7 separate regions of the Homo sapiens genome follow, and regions 1, 2, 3, 4, 5 and 7 are each linked to region 6. Evidence: promoter capture Hi-C in 16 types of primary human blood cells and fetal thymus (Javierre and others, 2016). All regions are on one chromosome and are shown on one strand. The core of a region is centred on a gene start or on the middle of the fragment in contact, and the rest is flanking DNA. Distances in the headings are between cores, read along the strand shown. Region 1 overlaps TGOLN2 (trans-golgi network protein 2). Region 2 overlaps KCMF1 (potassium channel modulatory factor 1). Region 3 overlaps KCMF1 (potassium channel modulatory factor 1). Region 4 overlaps KCMF1 (potassium channel modulatory factor 1). Region 5 overlaps TCF7L1 (transcription factor 7 like 1). Region 6 holds the start of SUCLG1 (succinate-CoA ligase GDP/ADP-forming subunit alpha). Region 7 overlaps KCMF1 (potassium channel modulatory factor 1).

The links. Contacts are between HindIII fragments. The CHiCAGO score rates a contact against its expected background, and 5 or more counts as called.
Region 1: a fragment that was not itself captured here is called in contact with the fragment with the promoter of SUCLG1 in region 6 in 6 of 17 cell types (total B cells, naive CD4 T cells, naive B cells and 3 more); the score reaches 9.0 in total B cells.
Region 2: a contact is called between a fragment that was not itself captured here and the fragment with the promoter of SUCLG1 in region 6, in 5 of 17 cell types (activated CD4 T cells, total CD8 T cells, total CD4 T cells and 2 more). The highest score is 7.7, in activated CD4 T cells.
Region 3: a contact is called between a fragment that was not itself captured here and the fragment with the promoter of SUCLG1 in region 6, in 3 of 17 cell types (total B cells, naive CD8 T cells and total CD4 T cells). The highest score is 7.1, in total B cells.
Region 4: a fragment that was not itself captured here is called in contact with the fragment with the promoter of SUCLG1 in region 6 in 4 of 17 cell types (total CD4 T cells, total B cells, monocytes and 1 more); the score reaches 6.7 in total CD4 T cells.
Region 5: a fragment that was not itself captured here is called in contact with the fragment with the promoter of SUCLG1 in region 6 in 6 of 17 cell types (total B cells, naive CD8 T cells, activated CD4 T cells and 3 more); the score reaches 7.7 in total B cells.
Region 7: a fragment that was not itself captured here is called in contact with the fragment with the promoter of SUCLG1 in region 6 in 5 of 17 cell types (total B cells, naive CD8 T cells, total CD8 T cells and 2 more); the score reaches 11.7 in total B cells.

Annotation. Positions count from the first base shown.
Region 1 is chr2:85,325,000-85,327,922 of GRCh38, forward strand. TGOLN2 (trans-golgi network protein 2) reads right to left here. Exons shown (of 4, transcript NM_006464.4): 1 at 2,918-2,923; 2 at 1,509-2,686. Among named protein-coding and RNA genes, the nearest start is that of TGOLN2, 1.5 kb to the right of the region's middle. RefSeq lists enhancers at 1,593-1,762, 2,003-2,182. The HindIII fragment of the contact is 413 bases long and covers 1,454-1,866 here.
Region 2 is chr2:85,040,301-85,043,000 of GRCh38, forward strand. All of the region lies in intron 3 of KCMF1 (potassium channel modulatory factor 1), which reads left to right. Among named protein-coding and RNA genes, the nearest start is that of LINC01964, 26 kb to the right of the region's middle. The HindIII fragment of the contact is 2,754 bases long and covers 1-2,656 here.
Region 3 is chr2:85,001,952-85,004,651 of GRCh38, forward strand. All of the region lies in intron 1 of KCMF1 (potassium channel modulatory factor 1), which reads left to right. Among named protein-coding and RNA genes, the nearest start is that of KCMF1, 32 kb to the left of the region's middle. The HindIII fragment of the contact is 544 bases long and covers 1,076-1,619 here.
Region 4 is chr2:85,059,390-85,062,089 of GRCh38, forward strand. KCMF1 (potassium channel modulatory factor 1) reads left to right here. Exons shown (of 7, transcript NM_020122.5): 7 at 1-83. Among named protein-coding and RNA genes, the nearest start is that of LINC01964, 6.6 kb to the right of the region's middle. The HindIII fragment of the contact is 2,608 bases long and covers 42-2,649 here.
Region 5 is chr2:85,288,758-85,291,457 of GRCh38, forward strand. The region is part of intron 4 of TCF7L1 (transcription factor 7 like 1); the gene reads left to right. Among named protein-coding and RNA genes, the nearest start is that of TGOLN2, 38 kb to the right of the region's middle. RefSeq lists an enhancer at 1,193-1,693. The HindIII fragment of the contact is 5,806 bases long and covers 1-2,700 here.
Region 6 is chr2:84,457,797-84,460,633 of GRCh38, forward strand. It overlaps SUCLG1 (succinate-CoA ligase GDP/ADP-forming subunit alpha), which reads right to left and starts at 1,484. Exons shown (of 9, transcript NM_003849.4): 1 at 1,377-1,484. The coding sequence starts at 1,473. It also overlaps a transcript of DNAH6 not described here. RefSeq lists an enhancer at 1,521-1,660 and a silencer at 1,841-2,030. The HindIII fragment of the contact is 6,917 bases long and covers 817-2,837 here.
Region 7 is chr2:85,022,852-85,025,613 of GRCh38, forward strand. All of the region lies in intron 1 of KCMF1 (potassium channel modulatory factor 1), which reads left to right. Among named protein-coding and RNA genes, the nearest start is that of LINC01964, 43 kb to the right of the region's middle. RefSeq lists an enhancer at 423-1,107. The HindIII fragment of the contact is 2,803 bases long and covers 1-2,687 here.

The sequences.
Region 1 (2,923 bases), core at 410-2,909, 870 kb after region 6:
TGAGGAAAGGAAAAAGAAAATGATTAACAGGTGGCTCTGTAATGACATAGTTCAGTCTCTGAACTCAGAGGCAGTCACCTGGTAGCATATTTGTTAATGACCCTGACTGTAGAAAGAGCAGTACACTCACAGAGGTCTATTTAAACTATAACCATTTTAAGAAAGACAGAGCCTAATTACATCAGAATCCTTTGTATTGCTTAATAGGAAATAACAAATAGAAGGCTGTCTGAGCTCTAGCGTGTGGGAGGAAGTCTGTTTGATTTATTCAAAGGTACACAGTCAAAGATCTATCAACTCCTTCCTAGAGATATCTAGGATATAGGACATTCCTTTAAAAAAAGTCATAATCAGAATTTCCTATCTACAAATGTACTTTTTCACCCCACGATGCTACATCAACTACATTCTTTATCAATCTCATTTCATGACTAAGGTTACCCTGCATAATGGACACTTGGACATAGAATAAGAAATACACTTTTTTTTTTTCTTAGAGGCAAGGTCTCACTCTGTCACCCGGGCTGGAGTGCAATGGCGTGATCATGGCTCACTGAAGCCTCGACCTCCCACAGTCAAGCCATCCTCCCACTTCAGCCTCCTGAGTAGCTGGGACCACACACGTCCACCACCACATCTGGCTAATTTTTTTATTATATGTAGAGACGAGGTCTTGCTATGTTGGCCAGGCTGGTCTCGGACTCCTGGGCTCAAGCGATCCTCCTGCCTCGGCCTCCCAAAGTGCTGGGATTAGAGGCAGGAGCCACTGCACCGGGCCAGGAATGCACATTTTTACTAAAGGTCTTCCCCTTTATTCTTTATAGCCATAGGCCTTATGGCCAGAATTGGACTCTCCAATTTTAAGCAGGTTACAGAAACTAGCTTCTAAATGTTGGGGGCTCAATATGAAATGCAATCATTTTGTCATTAGAGTGGTTGCTAATAAACAGACCAAACCCTGATGAAAAAGTAACAGGTGTACGTGTCTGTGCAATTTCTGGGCTTTCTTCTAATTATTATTAATTGCAGAAGTCCCTGGGCTCTTTGGTCCTGGTATCGAAGACGCAGTAATTGAAACCATTCTTTGTGCCACTGCTGATGGAAGAGAGAATGTTGGGAAAGGAAGCTAGAAATGACATATCGTCTCAAGAAGGGAAATAGGATGGAAGGTACGTGCTTTAACTGTCAAGTACTCAGGTCCTCTGAGGCTGTGAAGGACCTAAGTGCAAAGTTATGGGAGGAGATTCCAAGTCAGGTCAGATCCTAATAATGTCCTAACTTGGCTCCTAATGCAGTAGCAGAGGACACTCAGAGTAAACAGGTGACAGGATGAAAACACGATTAACAAAACAAGAGTAAAGAGGCCTAATAGGGCCTGAGGAAAAAACTGAAGTTTGTTTTAAAGTCCCCAGTGCTCACGGGCATCTAGTGACGGGATACCCACCCACACCCAAGCTTCCAGGGTGCTGGAAACCCCACTCCCCTCCGGAAGGCCGCTGTCGACTTACCTTCCGCTTGTTGTGATGAGCGATATAGAGGACAGCCACAAGAATGGCTGCAGTCACCAGATATGCAAAGAAGTGGCTGCTCTCCGCGCTGCCATTTCCAGAACCGTTCGGATAAAGGTCATCCTTCTCGCTACCCGTGGAATCCGAAAGTGTCCCTTCACGGTTCTCACTGGAGGCAGAACCGGACATCTTTTCTTTCTCTTCTTTGGGCGGTGAGCCCTCCTCGGGTCCTGTATCATCATCTTCAGCCTCTTTGGGCTCCACATCCTCAGTAGGCTCTGAAGACTTAACTTCCTCCTGCGGGGGAGAAATGAGGTCAGTTTCCTCCCCAGATTCGGTTTTGAAAGCATGAGGAGAAAGCTTCCCTTTGTCAGCAAGCTGGTTTGTGTCAGCCTTGGGGAGCTCCTTGTTATCAGAAGGGTTGGAGATGGGCTTGGAATGGTCTTTCCGGGAAGGCTGCTCTGGAACCACCTTGTTAGGGCTGTCTTTTGAGGTCTGCTCCTCCGCACCCGACTTGCTGGGCCCGTCTATTGGGCCCTGCTCCTCTGCACCGGACTTGTTAGAGCCGTCTTTTGGAGTCTGCTTCTCCGCACCCGACTTGTTAGGGACGTCTTTTGGGGTCTGATCCTCCGCACCCGACTTGCTGGAGCCGTCTTTTGGGGTCTGGCCGTCCGCACCCGACTTATTAGGGACATCTTTTGTGGTCTGCGCCTCCGAACCTGACTTGCTAGGGCTGTCTTTTTGGGTCTTTGCCTCCGCACCCGACCTGTTGGGGCTGTCTTCTGGGGTCTGCGCCTCCGCACCCGATTTGCCAGTGCTGTCTTTTGGAGTCTGCAGCTCCGGATGCGACTTACTAGTGCTGTCTTTTGTGGTCTGCGCCTCCGAACCCGACTTGCTAGTGCTGCCTTTTTGGGTCTTTGCCTCCGCACCCGACTTGTTGGAGCTGTCTTTTTGGGTCTTTGCCTCCGCACCCGACTTGTTGGGGGTGTCTTCTGGGGTCTGCGCCTCCGCACTCGACTTGCTAGGGCTGTCTTTTGGAGTCTGCGGCTCCGGATGCGACTTGGTAGAGCCTCCAGGCCGTTGGCTCAAGCTGGGGTGGGTGGAGACGTTTCCTGCAGAAGGCCGTACTCCAGCTTCTTCTTGCTTGACGCTTTCGGTGGCCAAGAGCGGCACGGCTCCTGAAATAGAAAAACGAGTTAGCACCGGAGAAGGGCAGGCGGGAAGAAGGAACTCCTCAGAACTGGAAGAGATCGGGAGCAGCGGGGGAATGGGGATTGGGGGGTGGGGCGGGAGACGATGGCGAGCGGAGAGGTGGGTCGGGTAGGGAAGAAGCGAGCCTAGAGGTGACCTGCCCAGGTGAGAATGGGGGATCTGGGGGCAAGAGTGGGATGCGGGATGGAGGGTCTTACCCGCCG
Region 2 (2,700 bases), core at 30-2,529, 580 kb after region 6:
ATAATTTTAGGGTCAGTACCCTAAAGTTACCCTTTGTGTCGAGTTTTCCTGTCCTGTAAGAGATATTAGGCACCATGATGTAGAAATAAAGACACACTCAAAACTAAGCAGTATTTGTGCCCATGAGTGGCACAGTGGCTTGCTTTGTCTCTCCTCCCACTCCCCACCACCTCTTTTCCATTTCTCCTGCCCCGCTTTGCTCTCCTTTTTCTTTCTTCGTCTTGTTCCCTTCATTTCCTCTCAGAAAACACAGTCTTGAGAACAAGCATTTTTGTCTTAAAGCATGAGTTAGCTTGCTAAATATAAAATGTAAAACCTAAAAGGTGACCAGGCCTCTGTGATCGCATCAGCATCTGAGCTTAGTTTTCCTTTCCAACTCCTCATTTGAGTTAACTTCATGTGACCCAAGTGTGGCAACATCTTCCACTTGGTTCTAAATCTAGCCTCTTGATTTTCTTTTTTCTTTTCTTTTTTTTTTTTTTGAGATGGAGTCTCTGTCGCTCAGGCTGGAGTGCAGTGGTGCGATCTTGGCTCACTGCAACCTCCGCTTCCCGGGTTCAAGTGATTCTCCTGCCTCAGCCTCCTGAGTAGCTGGGATTACAGGCGTGTGCCACCATGCCCAGGTCATTTTTGTATTTTTTAGTAGAGATGGGGTTTCACCATGTTGGTCAGGCTGGTCTCGAACTCCTGACCTTGTGATCCACCCACCTCAGCCTTCCAAAGTGCTGGGATTACAGGCATGAGCCACCGTGCCTGGCCTAGCCTCTTGATTTTTCTATGCCAGCTGTCAACCTGGGTGATCCTCCCACCACAGTAATTTCTTATCCTCAGTAATTCTTTATCCCTAGTAGTTATGGAAGTTTGGTTGGTTGATTGGTTGGTTTTATATTATTTCTCTTTGAATGAAGCAGTTCTGAATACCTTCATCCTGCCATCTTAGCAGAATTACTGCAATGAAATAAAAAAGATTTTGAGTATAGAACCAAAGTCAATACACGATAAGGAAGGATCTTGATTTTATTTTACATCCTTGTCTCGAAGGTGCTTTTCTACTTGTTAAATTATCTATCTTATTAGGACATTCTTTGTACGTTTGATGTCTCTGCTTCCCATTCTGTTTTCCTTCTAGGAATCTATATCCTTGTGGAGACTTTTCTCATCTACCAACATTTTTATGTCCCCTCAAGTACTGAAGCCTTTGCAGCTATCATTGGACAGCTCAAGTTGTTTATAGATTTTACCCGAAGGCCAATCTAAAGGAAAGTATCTTAGAAGAAAGATGCCTTTTCCTTTTGGTGGTTATTTTCTCTTTAAATAAAAATCTTATACAGCCTTATAATATTGTAATAAAACTATAACCCAGCACTTGTTAACTTTTTCAGAATGATGAGTCTCTAAGGTAGCTTGTTTTATTTTTAAATAACTGGAACTTGTTTTCTGTTTCTCCAAACATTGCTGGTCTTTTTTTTTTTTTTTTTTTTTTAAAAAAAGCAAGTCTGGCCGGAGTTTAAAACCAAAGACAAATCACATTGTCCTGCATCTCTCAAAGAGTTTACAGTTTAGCTAGGTAAGACCAGAAGCACGTGAAAAGTAAAATATGTATATCAGACATAACCAGGTAATGTCAGAGTACAGGAATGGTACAGATAGTAAAAGTTAAATCCCTAGTAAAGAGAGAGTGGATGGATAATCTGTAAACTTTGACACATACAGCTACTTTTCTGACAGAGGAAAGAATCTGACCACCTTCCTGGCATCTTCTAAGAAAGGCATAGGCAGGTCTATCTACTTCTTTTTCTCTTTTGCCTCATCACATTCCATTGTGACCTGTCTAGTTCTTCTGCACACTGTCATGCTTAAATGTTATTTCTCATGAACATATTTAGGTTTTCCTGAGGATATTTCTCAGAGTCCTGAGTCACATAATCAGGACAGCTGATTAGGCATAAGAGAGACTGATATCAAATCAGAGTTGAACTCTCAGGAGACTTCTGCTTTCTAGTTGTTAGAAGATGGAAAGTTATGTTTGTTTGGGCTTCAGGAATCAGAGCAGTTTGTTTTCCCTCCGTACCCCAGGATTGTCCTTCCAAGTCTCACCTTTTCCATCTCCCCTCATCTCCAGCGCTACCACCTACTCCCACTGTGCTGGCAGCAGACAATAAGGTTGACCAATTGCCTAGATTTTGCCTAAGTGAAAGAATTTCGGCACATGTACTGGCAATGAATCACATATCCTATCTTTAACCTTCTTATTTATGGATAAAGACACAAGTCTACAACTTGAACTGTGCACTTCCTGGGGCTCCTTTTGGTCATGCCCCTTGCTTCAGACCTTTCTTCTTGGCCCTGTTCTTTAAGATTGAAGTTGTTCATACTTCAAGGCTTGGCTACCATTGTTAGAACATTATCTGTCCATTTGAATTTCGGAAGAGTAAGGGCCTTTCCTCTTTAAAACGTTCCTCATTCTTTCTAGCCTTCCCCTCTCCTTCCCTCTGTTTCACCAATTCTGTTAACTATAGAAACCACCTTCCCAACCTGTCACCCGCTCCCCGAACTGTGACTGTGTACACACCATTTTATTCCTACTTTCTCCCATCTCTTGCCAAGAGGCCCATGGAAAGTTGTTCTACTACTCCTTGAGCCTGACCTGGTTACAAGCTTCTGGCCTACCACCCCATTTCTTCAGGAAATAAGGTTTAA
Region 3 (2,700 bases), core at 98-2,597, 540 kb after region 6:
ATAACACAATGCTATTTGTGGTTCTAAACATACCTAAACATAAAAAAGGTATCAGTAAAAATAAACTTGTGGGACCACCATCATATATGCAGTCCTTCATTGACCTAACCATGGTAGGCTTTGGCATCCTCCTCAAAACAGGTAGAAGAATTGATTATATTAATAACATTATTGCAAATACAAAATTGTTACTTTCCTAGTAGTGATGGATCTACTTCAGTTAGCTTTGTTCTTTACATTCTGGTTTTCAGTCTCCAGTATAAATATTAATGGCCCTACTAAATTCATTTAACCTCCAGTTTAGATGGTACCAGTGTCCTATGAAATATGCAGAAACCCTTTCAAAAGCATTTCAGTTTGTCTTTTAATCTTTGACCATAACGCATGCATTGACAGAGCATTCACTGTACCATCAGAGAATCATCCTTTGAACCACCTGCCTCCTTGTTAGCTTACTTTTTAAAAATAAACTTTTATTTTGGGATAATTTTTGATTTACAGAAAAGTTGCAAAGGTAGTATAGAGACTTCCCATATATTCCTTACCTGGTTTTTCCTAATGTTAATAGTTTGCATTACATTGGTACATTTGGCAAAACTAAGAAACCAACACTAGTACATTATTACTAATAAAGCTCCTGACTTTATTGAGGTCTTAACTGTGTTTTTTTTTTTTCACTAATATCCCTTTTCTGTGTGGGATCCAGGATACCAGGTTGCATTTAGTGTCTCCTGGTTTTGACCTTAGTAGCTACAGAGAACTGAGTGTACTGCCTCTTTGTGATAGCTCTGTATGGAGCTGTGGCATCCCCTCAGTGTTGCCTGTTCCCAGCTCTTTTGCTGAACAGCCCATTTTGTCCTTTAGTAATTTCTCTTGGTGTAGTTTCTAGATACTTTGCCATTCTGTCTATATACTATATATACTAACTATATAACTATATATACTACTGTACTTGTTTCCCATTTTAAAACAAGACACACAGAACTGAATGTAGTTCTTCACATATGGTCTGGCAGAGTAAAATGTTGTAGATATATCACAGTTATGAATCTTGTATGGTTATTAATGCAATCTAAGCTTGCTTGTTTATTTGCTGGCATTTTTAGCAACTGCATCTCATCTTGGGCTAATATTGACGCTAAGGTTTTGCTTAGTTAATTAATCCAGGATTTCTTATCACATGAATTGTTTTATCCAAAGGCAAAACTTTGTACGAAGTCCTTTTAAAATTCATCTTGTTGGCCGGGCGCGGTGGCTCACGCCTGTAATCCCAGCACTTTGGGAGGCCAAGGCGGGCAGATAACGAGGTCAGGAGATTGAGACCATTCTGGCTAACACGGTGAAACCCCGTCTCTACTAAAAAAAAGAAAAAAAAAATTAGCCAGGCGTGGTGGCGGGCACCTGTAGTCCTAGCTACTCGGGAGGCTGAGGCAGGAGAATGGTGCAAACCCTGGAGGCATAGCTTGCAGTGAGCCAAGATCGTGCCAGTGCACTCCAGCCTGGGCGACAGAGTGAGACTCCGTCTCAAAAAAAAAAATAAGTCTTGTTTTACATACCCGTTTGCCTCGCTTCAATCTCTGTTCTGTCATCTAGTATTTTAACTGTTTGTTTTATGCACAAGCTTATAAATGTTTGCTGTCATTTTATTTTTTTTATTTTTAATTTTTTGTTTGTTTGTTTTAAATAGAAACCGGGTCTCCCGATGTTACCCAGGTGGATCTCAAACTCCTGGGCTCTAGGAATCCTCCTGCCTAGGATTACAGGCGTGAGCTACCACACCTGGCCTACTGTCATTTTCTAAGTCACTAATAAAAACATATATAAAATAGGGTCAAGTACAGGACCTTACAGGCCCAAGATAACTGGGCAAATGAAAGAAGATGTAGCAAGCATGTAATTGTGTGAGGAAGCTAAAAAGGGTTAGCATAGGGTAAAGGCCCTGGTTCTGCCTTACAGTAGTCACCCTTTATCTGAGGGGGGACATTTTTCCAAGACCACCCAGTGGATGCCTGAACCTGTGGATAGTACTGAACCCTATGTATCCTGTTATTCATCTGATAACCAGCTGCTAAGTGACTAGTGGGCAGGTATACAGCACAGATACGCCAAGCAAAGGGATGATTCACCTCCGAGTGGGACAGTGCATGATGTCATCACACTATTCAAAACAGTAGGTAGTTTAAAACTTATGAATTGTTTGTCTCTGGAATTTTCCATTTAATATTTTCAGACCACTGTTGACCACGGATAACTGAAACCTCAGAAAGCAAAACTTTGGGGCGGGGCGTGGTGGCTCACACCTGTAATCCCAGCACTTTGGGAGGCCAAGGCGGGCAGATCACGATGTCAGGAGATTGAGACTATCCTGGCTAACATGGTGAAAACCTGCCTCTACTAAAAGTACAAAAAATTAGGCAGGCATGGTGGCGGGCACCTTGTAGTCCCAGCTACTCTGGAGGCTGAGGCAGGAGAATGGCGTGAACCCAGGAGGTGGAGTTTGCAGTGAGCCGAGATCGCGCCACTGCACTCCAGCCTGGGCGACAGAGCAAGACTCCATCTCAAAAAAAAATAATAATAAAAAAAAAGAGAAAGCAAAACTTTGGGTTGGGAGGACTGCAGTATATTCTGACCTGTGGGTGGTGCCTAAGCTAGAACTCTTGCAGAGTGTGAGAACAACTGAATTTTTTGGAGGGGGGCAGG
Region 4 (2,700 bases), core at 96-2,595, 600 kb after region 6:
TTGATATAGATTACCTTTTATAACATCACCACCTGTCATGAAGCTTATCTGTTTTCTGATTTGAATAAACTTTGTGTTGTGCACCTCAGTTTCCATTGCATTCACTGAGATAGCTGAGTGTGACTTCAGTGTTGTGTCATCTTAAGATGTCAGTAATGTTCAACACAGACTTGGTCATCTGTGGCACTGGTGTTTCGGCATTTCTATAGTTTTTGTTTTGTTTTGTTTTTTGAGATGGAGTTTTGCTCTTGTTGCCCAGGCTGGAGTGCAGTGGCACTATCTCGGCTCACTGCAATCTCCGCCTTCTGGGTTCAAATGATTCTCCTGCCTCAGCCTCCCAAGTAGCTGGGATTACAGATGTGTGCCACCACGCCCAGCTACTTTTTTGTATTTTTAGTATTTTGTATTTTGTATTTGTATTTTTAGTAGAGACGGGGTTTCACCATGTTGGTCAGGCTGGTCTCAAACTCCTAACCTCAGGTGATCCACCTGCCTCGGCCTCCCAAAATGCTGGGATTACAAGCGTGAGCCACCACACCTGGCCTCATTTCTATAGTTTTAAATCCCCTGTGAAATACCATTACTCCTATTGTCCCTGTCTGCGTCCTCTCCTGTTTCTGTGTGTGTGTGTGTGTGTGTGTGTGTGTGTGTGTGTGTGTGTGTTTTATTAATGCTTCCAGTGACATCTGCAGTTTCAGTTCCATTTGCCTACGGAATTTTCAGGACCACCCTGGTTACCACTGTTGCTGGTGTCTGAGCCTGAGGGGTGAACATGTGGCCTCTCTCCTCAGTCCAGAAAAGGACTTTGGAATACTGATTCTACTTACAGCTTCACAGGGCAAGACTAGAAAGAAGGACTTGAGAAGGAGCCCCCTGAACTTCAGCATGAACATAAGCCCCACCCACTCAGGACCGGAAGGGACAAGACTTGTTCCTTATCCATTTTTTTTTTCCCTCTTCAGAGTTCCTGTTGGCTTTTGGTGGTTGTTTTTCCCCATTTTGAACACTCAACTGCCTCTAGCCAATGGCAGGGTTTTTTTTGTTTTGTGTGTTTGTTTGGTGTTTGTTTGTTTTGTTTTTGAGACGGAGTCTCACTCTGTCGCCCATGCTGGAGTGCAGTGGCGCAATCTCGGCTCACTGCAACCTCCACCTCCCGGATTCAAGCGATTCTTCTGCCTCAGCTTCCTGAGTAGCTGGGACTACAGGCCCGCGCCACCACATCCAGCAAATTTTTTGTTTTTTAGGAGAGACGGGGTTTCACTATGTTGGCCAGGCTGGTCTCATACTCCTCACCTCAGGTGATCCGCCCACCTCAGCCTCCCTAAGTGCTGGGATTACAGGAATGAACGACCGTGCCCGGCCAAGCCAATGGCAGGTTTAAAAGCAAGTAGTGAAAATTACCTTTTAGTATCTACCTGAACAAATGCCTTTCACTCCAGCCTAGGGCTCTAGGGTTGTCCCCCAAGTCACTGTGTTCTGAGGAGGATGGTGGATTGTATTTTTTTTTTTTTTTTAAGACAGGGTCTCACTCTGTCTCCCAGGCTGGAGTGCAGTGGTGCAATCTCGGCTCACTGCAGCCTAGATCTCCTGAACTCAAGCTATCCTCCCACCTCTGCCTCCCGAGTAGCTGGGAGCTACAGGCACATGCCACCATACCCAGCTAATTTTTGTGTTTTTTGTAGAGATGGGGTTTCACCATGTTGCCCAGCCTGGTCTCAAATTCCTGGGCTCAAGCGATTTGCCCACCTTGGCCTCCCAAAGTGCTGGGATTACAGGCATGAGCCACCATGCCTGGCCGGATCTTTTTAAGAACACTTTTGGCATATTTCGATAAAACTTTTAATCCTTTCATAGTATTTTCCAAGTGTTCACCATTCTATGGTTATAAAGCCCCGAACAAGTCCACCTAAGAAAACCAAAACCCACCATGTCCACTCGCAGGCGCTTGTCCAGTGGTCCTGGGCAACACATTCTTTTCACACAGCTGTCTTTCAAACTGCCTTCAGCTCTGGTAGAGTCTGGCCACCAAGGATTGGGGTGGGTTGGTTGATTACTCCACGAATCCTAAAATGTAAAGGTTGCAACAAATAGCACTTTTCACATCTTATACTGTTGTAAGGCACACATTTTAGACATTGTTACATTTCAAGTAGACAGCATTTGATGAAGTGTTTGTAAGATAGCTTTTAGATGCTTATAAATTCTGTAGCCAGCCATAACAGATGTTGGCTGGGAGAAAGAATGGAATTAAGTTTGTAAAAAGAAGTGGTTGGAAAAATTACAATGAATCATGAGAATGGATGTGAATCTTCTGTATTAGAAATTAGGGTTCTCTCTCTTGGGATTCTCTCTCTTACCTCAAAAGTACCCAGATCATGCTTGGACTAGGAGGCAAGTCATGGGTAATAATTGGTAGGTCAATTCTGGGGAGGTAAAATTTGCGGAATTTCCTGGATTACTGACATTGCCTGCGCTGTGAAAGAAAAAGGGAAAATGGTGGTCTTGCTTGATCAGATGTTAGAACTTGGAATTCACGGTGGGGATAAGGAGATGCACATTTTTGTGTCAAGGGCAGTGGATGGGACTCAAAATCAAGCTGGGTTGGAGGTGAAGTTAGGGAAAACCTGGAGAATGGAACTCTGGAATTAAAGCTTAGAATTGGAAAGGTCTAATTGCTCTCTGGGTGCAGGAGTTCCCATG
Region 5 (2,700 bases), core at 201-2,700, 830 kb after region 6:
CAACTATTTGTAAGATCCGATCAGTGTAATTTCATCACTTGCAGATTATTATCCAGACCCCTCACCATGGCCCCACATGCCAGGTGCCTGTCTTCCCTCCAGTGTCCCCCAGGAGCACTGTGTCCAGCCACGCAAAACACATATATGCCCCTCTAGAATATAAGCAACACGAAGACAGGAATCGCATCTGAGCGCCTGTTGTAATGCTCGGGAGCATTTGTTGAATGAATGGAAGAATGAATGGTCTGGTAAAAAGTTAATACCCCTTCTCTACCCACATTTACCCAAGATCCAACCCCTTTTTTCATTCAGAACTGTTTTTTAATTTTAAAAAATCTTTTTTTGAAACCGTAAAAGTAATGCATGCACTGTGTAGAACTCTTGGGAAAATGCCAGAAAGCACAGAAAAAGATCTATAATCCCACAACCCACAAACATTTTGTTAAATAGTATTTCAGTCTGGAGTGTGTGTGTGTGTGTGTGTGTGTGTGTGTGTATACTTATAACTTGCTCTCTGATGACCAAAATGCTTCCTGTCCAGGTAGATGCCTAATAAATTCTGCTGAGTTACAGGCAAATGGGGCCAGAGACCCAGAGACCAGGAGACAAATAATCCAGATAACTTGGAAATGGTTGCAGTTCTCCAAAACTTTAGAGTGACTTAATCCAGCTTTTTGGAAAATGGTCAGATATTCAGGGGTTTTTTAATGCAAATTTTAGCTGTTAGGCTGAGCATCCAGAATCAGAAAAGGGACCTAGAGAGTAAGGAGTTGAGGGATAGAGGAAGGTGTAGAGAAAAATCTAGATGAGGTTAGTGCAAAGGCAGAAATATCTACCACCTTTGAAACTTTGCCACCTCTCTCTTCCTGGTTGCCTTTTATTTAAACATTTTAAAAATAGATAGACATAGATGGTTTCCAGTTGTTTGTTTGTTTTGAGACAGTCTCACTGTTGCCCAGGCTGGAGTGCAGTGGCACAAACTCAGCTCACTGCAACCTCCACCTCCTGGGTTCAAGAGATTCTCCTGCCTCAGCCTCCCGAGTACCTGGGATTACAGGTATTCACCACCACGCCCAGCTAATTTTTTTGTATTTTTAGTAGAGACGGGGTTTCATCATGTTGGCTAGGCTGGTCTGGCACTCCTGGCCTCACGGGATCCGCGCACCTCAGCCTCCCAAAGTGCTGGGATTACAGGCACGAGCCACCACGCCTAGCCCAGTTTTTTTTTTTTTTTCTCCGAGACAGAGTCTCACTATGTCGCCCAGGCTGGAGTGCAGTGGTGCGATCTCAGCTCACTGCAACTTTCACACTCCGGGTTCAAGCAATTCTCCCTGCCTCAGCCTCCCAAGTAGCTGGGATTACAGGCGCCTGCCACCACACATGGCTAATTTTTGTATTTTTTTAGTAGAGACGGGGTTTCACCATGATAGCCAGGCTGGTCTTGAACTCCTGACCTCAGGTGATCTGCCCGCCTTGGCCTCCCAAAGTGCTGGAATTACAGGCGTGAGCCACCTCACCCGGCCCCAGTTTTTAAGCTAAAGTTAGCATCCTGTGCATATATTTGTATACGTGTGCGCTTTTCCCCCCATTTAAAAAAAATTAGAGTTAGGGTCTCGCTATGTTGCTCAGGCTGGCCTTGCACTCCTGGCCTCAAGTGATCCGCCTGCCTCAGTCTCCAAAAGTGCTAGGATTACAGGCATGAGCCATCATGCCCAACCTCCCCATTTTTAAGATATAATTTACATATAGTGAAATTCACATGAGTATATAGTTCTGTGAGTTTTGACAAACTTTTGCAGTCATACATGAGTTCACCACAATCAAGATATAGAACAGTTCTCCTAGTCAGCTTAGCTTGGTATGAAAAGTAAAAATAAAAAAGATATAGGACAGTTCTGTGTTAGGGTTCTCCAGGGAAACAGAACCAAGGTGATGTATGTATATATAGCGAGTGAGTGAGTGAGTGTGAATGTGTAGAGGGAGAAAGATTTAAGAGGGTAAGCTGGCAGGCTGGAGACTGGCAGGGAAGAGTTACAGTCTAAGTCTAAAGGCAGTCTGCTAGCAGAGTTCTATTCAATTTAATGCTCAAGAATAATCCTCTTTGGCACCATTCATTCTCTGTCCTTCCAGCCCACCAGGATGGGAGCTGGGAGCTGTGCCCCTGAGGCCCTGGGCGGCAGCCACACCTTGTGAATCCCCTCTTGGGGTCATTCTTCCCTCTTCTTGAAAGATAACAAATGTTTGCAGCCACATCACTGTAGCCCATTCTGTAGAAGTCTGACAGCCTTCCTTCCCTTTGTCCTGTCTTTGTCCATTTTAATCCAAAAGGGCAGTATTTCTGCTGAGGTGGTTGGTTGAATCCATGCTTCACAGCCCCAGTCTCATTATCTGATCGTCCAGCCACACCATTGGTGTTCTCTTAGGAACACACCTTCTCATTTTTTTGCAATGAGGCTAGGCTGAGAATTTTCTAAATTTTCAAGTTCTGGTTCCTTTTTGCTTAACAATAATTTACTTCTCACATTTTACTACAAGCAGTAAGGAGAAACCAAGCCACACCTTCAGCACTTTGCTTAGAAATAACTTGTGCTGAATATCTAAATTCATCACTCACAAGTTCTACCTTTCACAAAACACTACAAAATAACTCAGCCATGTTTCTTCCCACTTTGTAACAAGAATCGCCTTTCCACTAGTTCC
Region 6 (2,837 bases), core at 234-2,733:
GAGTGATTACTGGGTATAATGAATTCTTTTTGTCCTTCTGCCTACAACACTCTCAAGAATCTCCAGAAAGCTTTACCAAACAAACCATTTCATACTTGCTAACGTTATCTAGCCAGACCTTTGTCCTCAAGTGATTGGCAACTAAGTGTTAGCTATTGAGTGCACACTCATCAATGTACACTTTCAGAATGTAATCTTCTCAAGAAAGGAATTAAGTCTCATAAAATATTCAGTACAAGCAGAATTAAGAGCAAAGCGGAAAAAGAAAACTAACTTTGAGTGTTTGTTACATACGAGATGCTTTATATAAATTGCTCCACTTATTCTGCAGTGAACCCAGATCATCCTGTACATCATCATTGCTAAAATGCACATTTTTTTTCACTTTTTAAAAAACCAGGATACATGTGACAACCACTGGTGTGTCACAGTTTTAATAAGCAATCGTTCTTCATTGTTAGTGGTAAACAAAATAATGGTCCACCTTACAAGTGATGGTGCTTCAGGCCCCTTAAAATGTGTTAATATTTTCATGTGATTGGAAACACTGAAAAACAGATTAAGTGTCCAGGGTTATTACACAGACTGAAAAGGGACTAGCCAGACTTCAAACCCTGATGTGGCTGATTCCAAAGTTTCTTTCTACTATAACCTACCTGACAAGCACAGAGACTTTGAATATGGCAAGAATTTTCCATAGTCAGCGTGTCTCAAAGACTAGCAACCTTGGGTACTAAGTTTTCGGGAACGGATGTGTCCACAAATCGCCTGGTGGAGACACTGCAAATAAGCTGGTTTAGGTCCCAGCCAACCATAAGCTTCTAGTAGTCTATGCGGCTATGCCGACCCCACTCCGTGTGCAGAAACCATCTTTCCCTGACATACAATCCTGCAGAGGGGGAATTCGAAGTGCAGGACCTTTCCGTACTAGGGACAGCCTCATCCCCCAACTTCCTACTGAGACACTCTTCCTCTACCTCTCAACCCAGACCCTTACCTTCCCCACCAAGTTCACCTTGGACCTCTTCATCCCCAACTCCAAATAAGGCCAGTCTAGACGCCACCCCCATCCTGTCATTTGTCACCGCGGGGCCGAGAGCAAGCTCCCAAATTTGCAGGGCTCCCGGACCCGAATCCTGGCTCAGCCACCCAATATCTCCATCTGCCAGCGGCCTAAGTCATGCCCCCCGCCCCACGTATCCAGCAAAGCTCCTTCCACCGTAGGGGTCCCCGACTCGAAGCCGGAATCCCAAGCGGCTCCCAGGCCCCCGCCGAGGTCCAGCCCTGAGGGCCCAGCCGCGGCCTGGGCCAGGAGGTTGGGTCCGGCGGGGCCAATAACCCGCGGGCGCCAGGAAGACAGTACTGGCTGGACTCACGGAGGAAGCTGCGCGACAGGAGACGGGCGGCGGCGAGGCCGCTGCTGCCGGAGACCATGGTAGCGATGTCAGCGGCAGCGGCAAGGGTTGCGGTCATACGCCAATGACACTCCCAGGCCCCCGGGGACCTCCCAGGGGCAGAGGCCGGAGGAGGCAGAGGGTGGCCACAGCAGTCGCCTGAACAAATTTCCCTTTACAGAGGATTCTTCACGAAACAGCGGGAATGGCAGGTGAAGACAAAGAGGCATCCTATCGGAGAGGCAGATAATAACTCGGCTCCTTCCTAGAAATGTGGGTTTGATTAACATTAATTATAACAGCAGCTGAGGGAAAACCCCACGCGAGACTGGCCAGCGCGTGGCATTGTGGGCAATGTAGTCTGACGGCCGCGACTGGTTCGTAGCTTTTGAGTGAGGCGGCGGGAAGGGAGCGAGGGAAGAGCGGCAGTGAGACCGGGGAGACAAGGGACTTGAAGACTAGGAGGGAAGAAACAGCGAGGTGAGGTGCGAAGAGCAGTGCCAGAACTTTGTATCCCAGGCCCATCTCCTTCCCCCTTCGTTTTCCTCGTTTGCTATTAGAGAGAATAATATTTCTCACCGCGTACCTGTGCCTGGACCCGGAAGGGTTGCCGCTGGGGACGGGAATTCGAACTGGCACTGGTGGCCTGTGAAGGGAAAGATGTGATGAGAAAGACCAAAACCTATCTTACTGACAGTTAACTTCTTGGAATGTGAATTTTTTTAGTTAAATAATCATGCAGTCTTTGACTAGCACTAAGTGCATGAGTGTTTATTCCCTGAGGATCCTAAGGGCTGAAATTCGAGGTCAAATGTGACTTTGCTCCCTGATTGGACAAACAGTTCCCTCTTCTGTAACAGCTTTAGAAGGAACCTCAGAGAGTCCCAGAGTCAAAAGGTAAACAAGAGATGAAGTAATCTGCGTCTCTGCCGAAAATCGTGCTCCTGAGATTCCTCATCAGAATTGTCAATAAAATTGCAATCCTAATTTACTTAGGTAGTCATTATAATTGGCACTGAGCTGTGGGATGGATGAGTGGGATTACCCCAGGAGATTGCCCAATACTTCCTTTATGATCCAAATATTGTCATTAACAGGTTGGACTTCACTGCAAATAAACTCCTCCCTCATGGATCATGTTCTTGTGATAACTAAATTCCTCAGAGTTAAATAGTATCAGTGGTTTCCAGATATATCCATTATAACAAAATGGACATTTTTATGGCAAATAAATAGAAAATCCCTTGCTATTTTAAATAGCAAAATTATTCCTGAGCTGTCGCTTGATAAGTTATATGTTTAGTTTCATTTAATTGATAAAATGCATGATGACAAAAAATATAATTTCAGTACACTTTTAATGAAAATTTGTATTTCCATGAAGACGGGGATTTTTGTTTGTTTTGTATCCTGGAGTATCCCCAGCACCTAGAACAATGCCTT
Region 7 (2,762 bases), core at 36-2,535, 560 kb after region 6:
AGATACTGGTTTTCAACTTTATACTGTATGTATTCTTTTTTTTTTTTTTTTTTTTGAGACGGAGTCTCGCTCTGTTGCCCAGGCTAGAGTGCGGTGGCTGATCTCAGCTCACTGCAAGCTCCGCCTCCTGGGTTCACGCCATTCTCCTGCCTCAGTCTCCCCAGAAGCTGGAACTACAGGCGGCCGCCATCACGCCTGGCTAATTTTTTGTATTTTTAGTAGAGACGGGGTTTCACTGTGTTAGCCAGGATGGTCTCGATCTCCTGACCTCATGAGCCGCCCGCCTCGGCCTCCCAAAGTGCTGGGATTACAGGCGTGAGCCACCGCGCCCGGCCAATACTGTATGTATTCTTTGAAATTTCCTTTCACTCATCTGAGGCAGATGTTCTTACCGTTGCTGTGATTCATTCTTTTTCCAATTCATTCTGTGCATATTGAACTGTTGAGCCTTTGAATCTGAATAGCCTTTTTTTTTTTTTTTTTGAGACGGAGTCTCGCACTTTCTCGCCCAGGCTGGAGTGCAGTGGCGCGATCTCAGCTCACTGCAAGCTCCGCCTCCTGGGTTCACGCCATTCTCCTGCCTCAGCTTCCTGAGTAGCTGGGACTACAGGCGCCCGCCACCACGCCTGGCTAATTTTTTTTTGTATTTTTAGTAGAGACGGGGTTTCACCGTGTTAGCCAGGATGGTGTCGATCTACTGACCTTGTGATCCGCCCGCCTCGGTCTCCCAAAGTGCTGGGATTACAGGCGTGAGCCACCGCGCCCAGCCCCTGAGTAGCCTTTTTAAAATTCAGTTACAAAAACTGCCGTCAACATTCTTCCACATTCTCTAGGTGCACACAGACAAAAGATTCCCTCCCCGGGAATTTATTTAAGAGTGAAATTACGGTATCATAGGAGGTATATGTGTTTAACTTGACTAAAAATATGAACAAATTTTTCAAAGTGGTTGTGCTGATTTACACTCCTACCAGCAGGGTATAAGCACTTCTGCTGCCCTTTATCTTCACTAACACTTGATATCATGAAACTTGTAGTTTCTTACCGGTTTGGTAAATGTAAAATGCTAGCTCACGGATGTTAATCATGCACTTCTTTGATGACTAATGAGATTGAGCATCTTTTCATATGTTTACTGGCCATTTATGTTTGTTGTTCTTTGAGTGCCCTTTGACAGGTTTCTCCATTTTTCTACTAAGCATTCATCATTTACTTACTGATATGTAAGAGTTCATAATGCATTCTGAATACCAAACTTTTGTCTGTCATGTATGTTGTACATATCGCCAGTTTCTGAACCTTATATTTTCAATCAATGTAGGCTGTGAAAAGACGAAGAAAAAGGCCGAGCGTGGTGGCTCACGCCTGTTGTAATTCCAGCACTTTGGGAGGCCCAGGCGGGCAGATCACCCGGAGTTCGAGACCAGCCTGGCCAACGTGGTGAAACCCCGTCTCTACTAAAAATACAAAAATTAGCTGGGCATGGTGCCAGGCGCCTATGATCCCAACTCCTTGGGAGGCTGAGGCAGGAGAATTGCTTGAACCCAGGAGGCGGAGGTTGCAGTGAGCCAAGATCTCACCATTGCACTCCAGCCCCGGCGACAGAGTGAGACTCTATCTCAAAAGAATAAAACAAAAACAAAAGATGAAGAAAAAGTCTTAACGTAGTTGGACTTATCTCTTACTTTTTGATTTGGAGAGTGAGAGAGAGAGAGAGAGAGAGAGAGAGAGAGTGTGTGTGTGTGTGTGTGTGTGCGCGTGTGTGTGTGAGAAAGAGAAAGATTTAAGAAATTGTTTTCTACTTTAGACTCATAAAAATATTCTATATTGTCTTCTAGAGATATTTTTCATTGTTCTTTTGAATCCGTCTTTAAACCATGTGGAATTGATTTTTTGTGTGTATAGGATATGGGGAGAGATCCAATTCTGTTTTCCCCACATGCAGATAATCACCTGTTCAGCACCATTTATTGTCCATTCCCTTTTTTTCTCAGTGCTCTTTAGTGACCTTGCTGTTGTAAAACAGATTTCAACATCTGTTTCTGGTCTTTCCGTTCTATTCCATGGGCCAGTTTGTCTCTACCCTGGTGCCATTCCATCTTACTGTAGTTATTATAGGTTTATTATTTGTTATGGTGTTACTTATTATTTATTAGTTTAGCTCTTGATATATAAAACAAGTCCCTCTATCTCATTTTTCTTGGGAGCATCTTGACTCTCCTTGGCCCTTTTTGTAACTTGCATCAACATTTGAGTCAGCTTACCATGCCCCACAAAAAAATTCTTTTTAAATTTTGGTTATTAATTGTATTGAATCCACAAATCTGTTGACATTTTATTATGAACCTTCCAGTCCATGAAGTTGGTATTTATATTTTTTAAAGTCCTTTAGTGTCTTTGAATACATTTTTACTAATTTGCTTCATAAAGGGCTGCCTATCTTTGGTTAGATTTATTCATAGGCACTTTTTTAAAATGCTGTTGCAAATGGCTTATTTTTTTATTGCAGTAAAATATACATAGCATAAAATTTATTTTAACCCCTTTTAGGTGTACAGTTCAGTAGCATTAAGTATATTCACATTCTTGGAACCATCACCACTGTCCATCTCCAGAATTCTTCCATTATCCCAAACTTGAAAACTCTCTACCCACTAAACCGTAACTCCCCGTTCTCCCTTTCCTCAAGCTTCTGGCAACCACTGTTCTACTTTCCTTCTCTTTGAATTTGGCACATCTCGATGGAATCACAAATGACATTT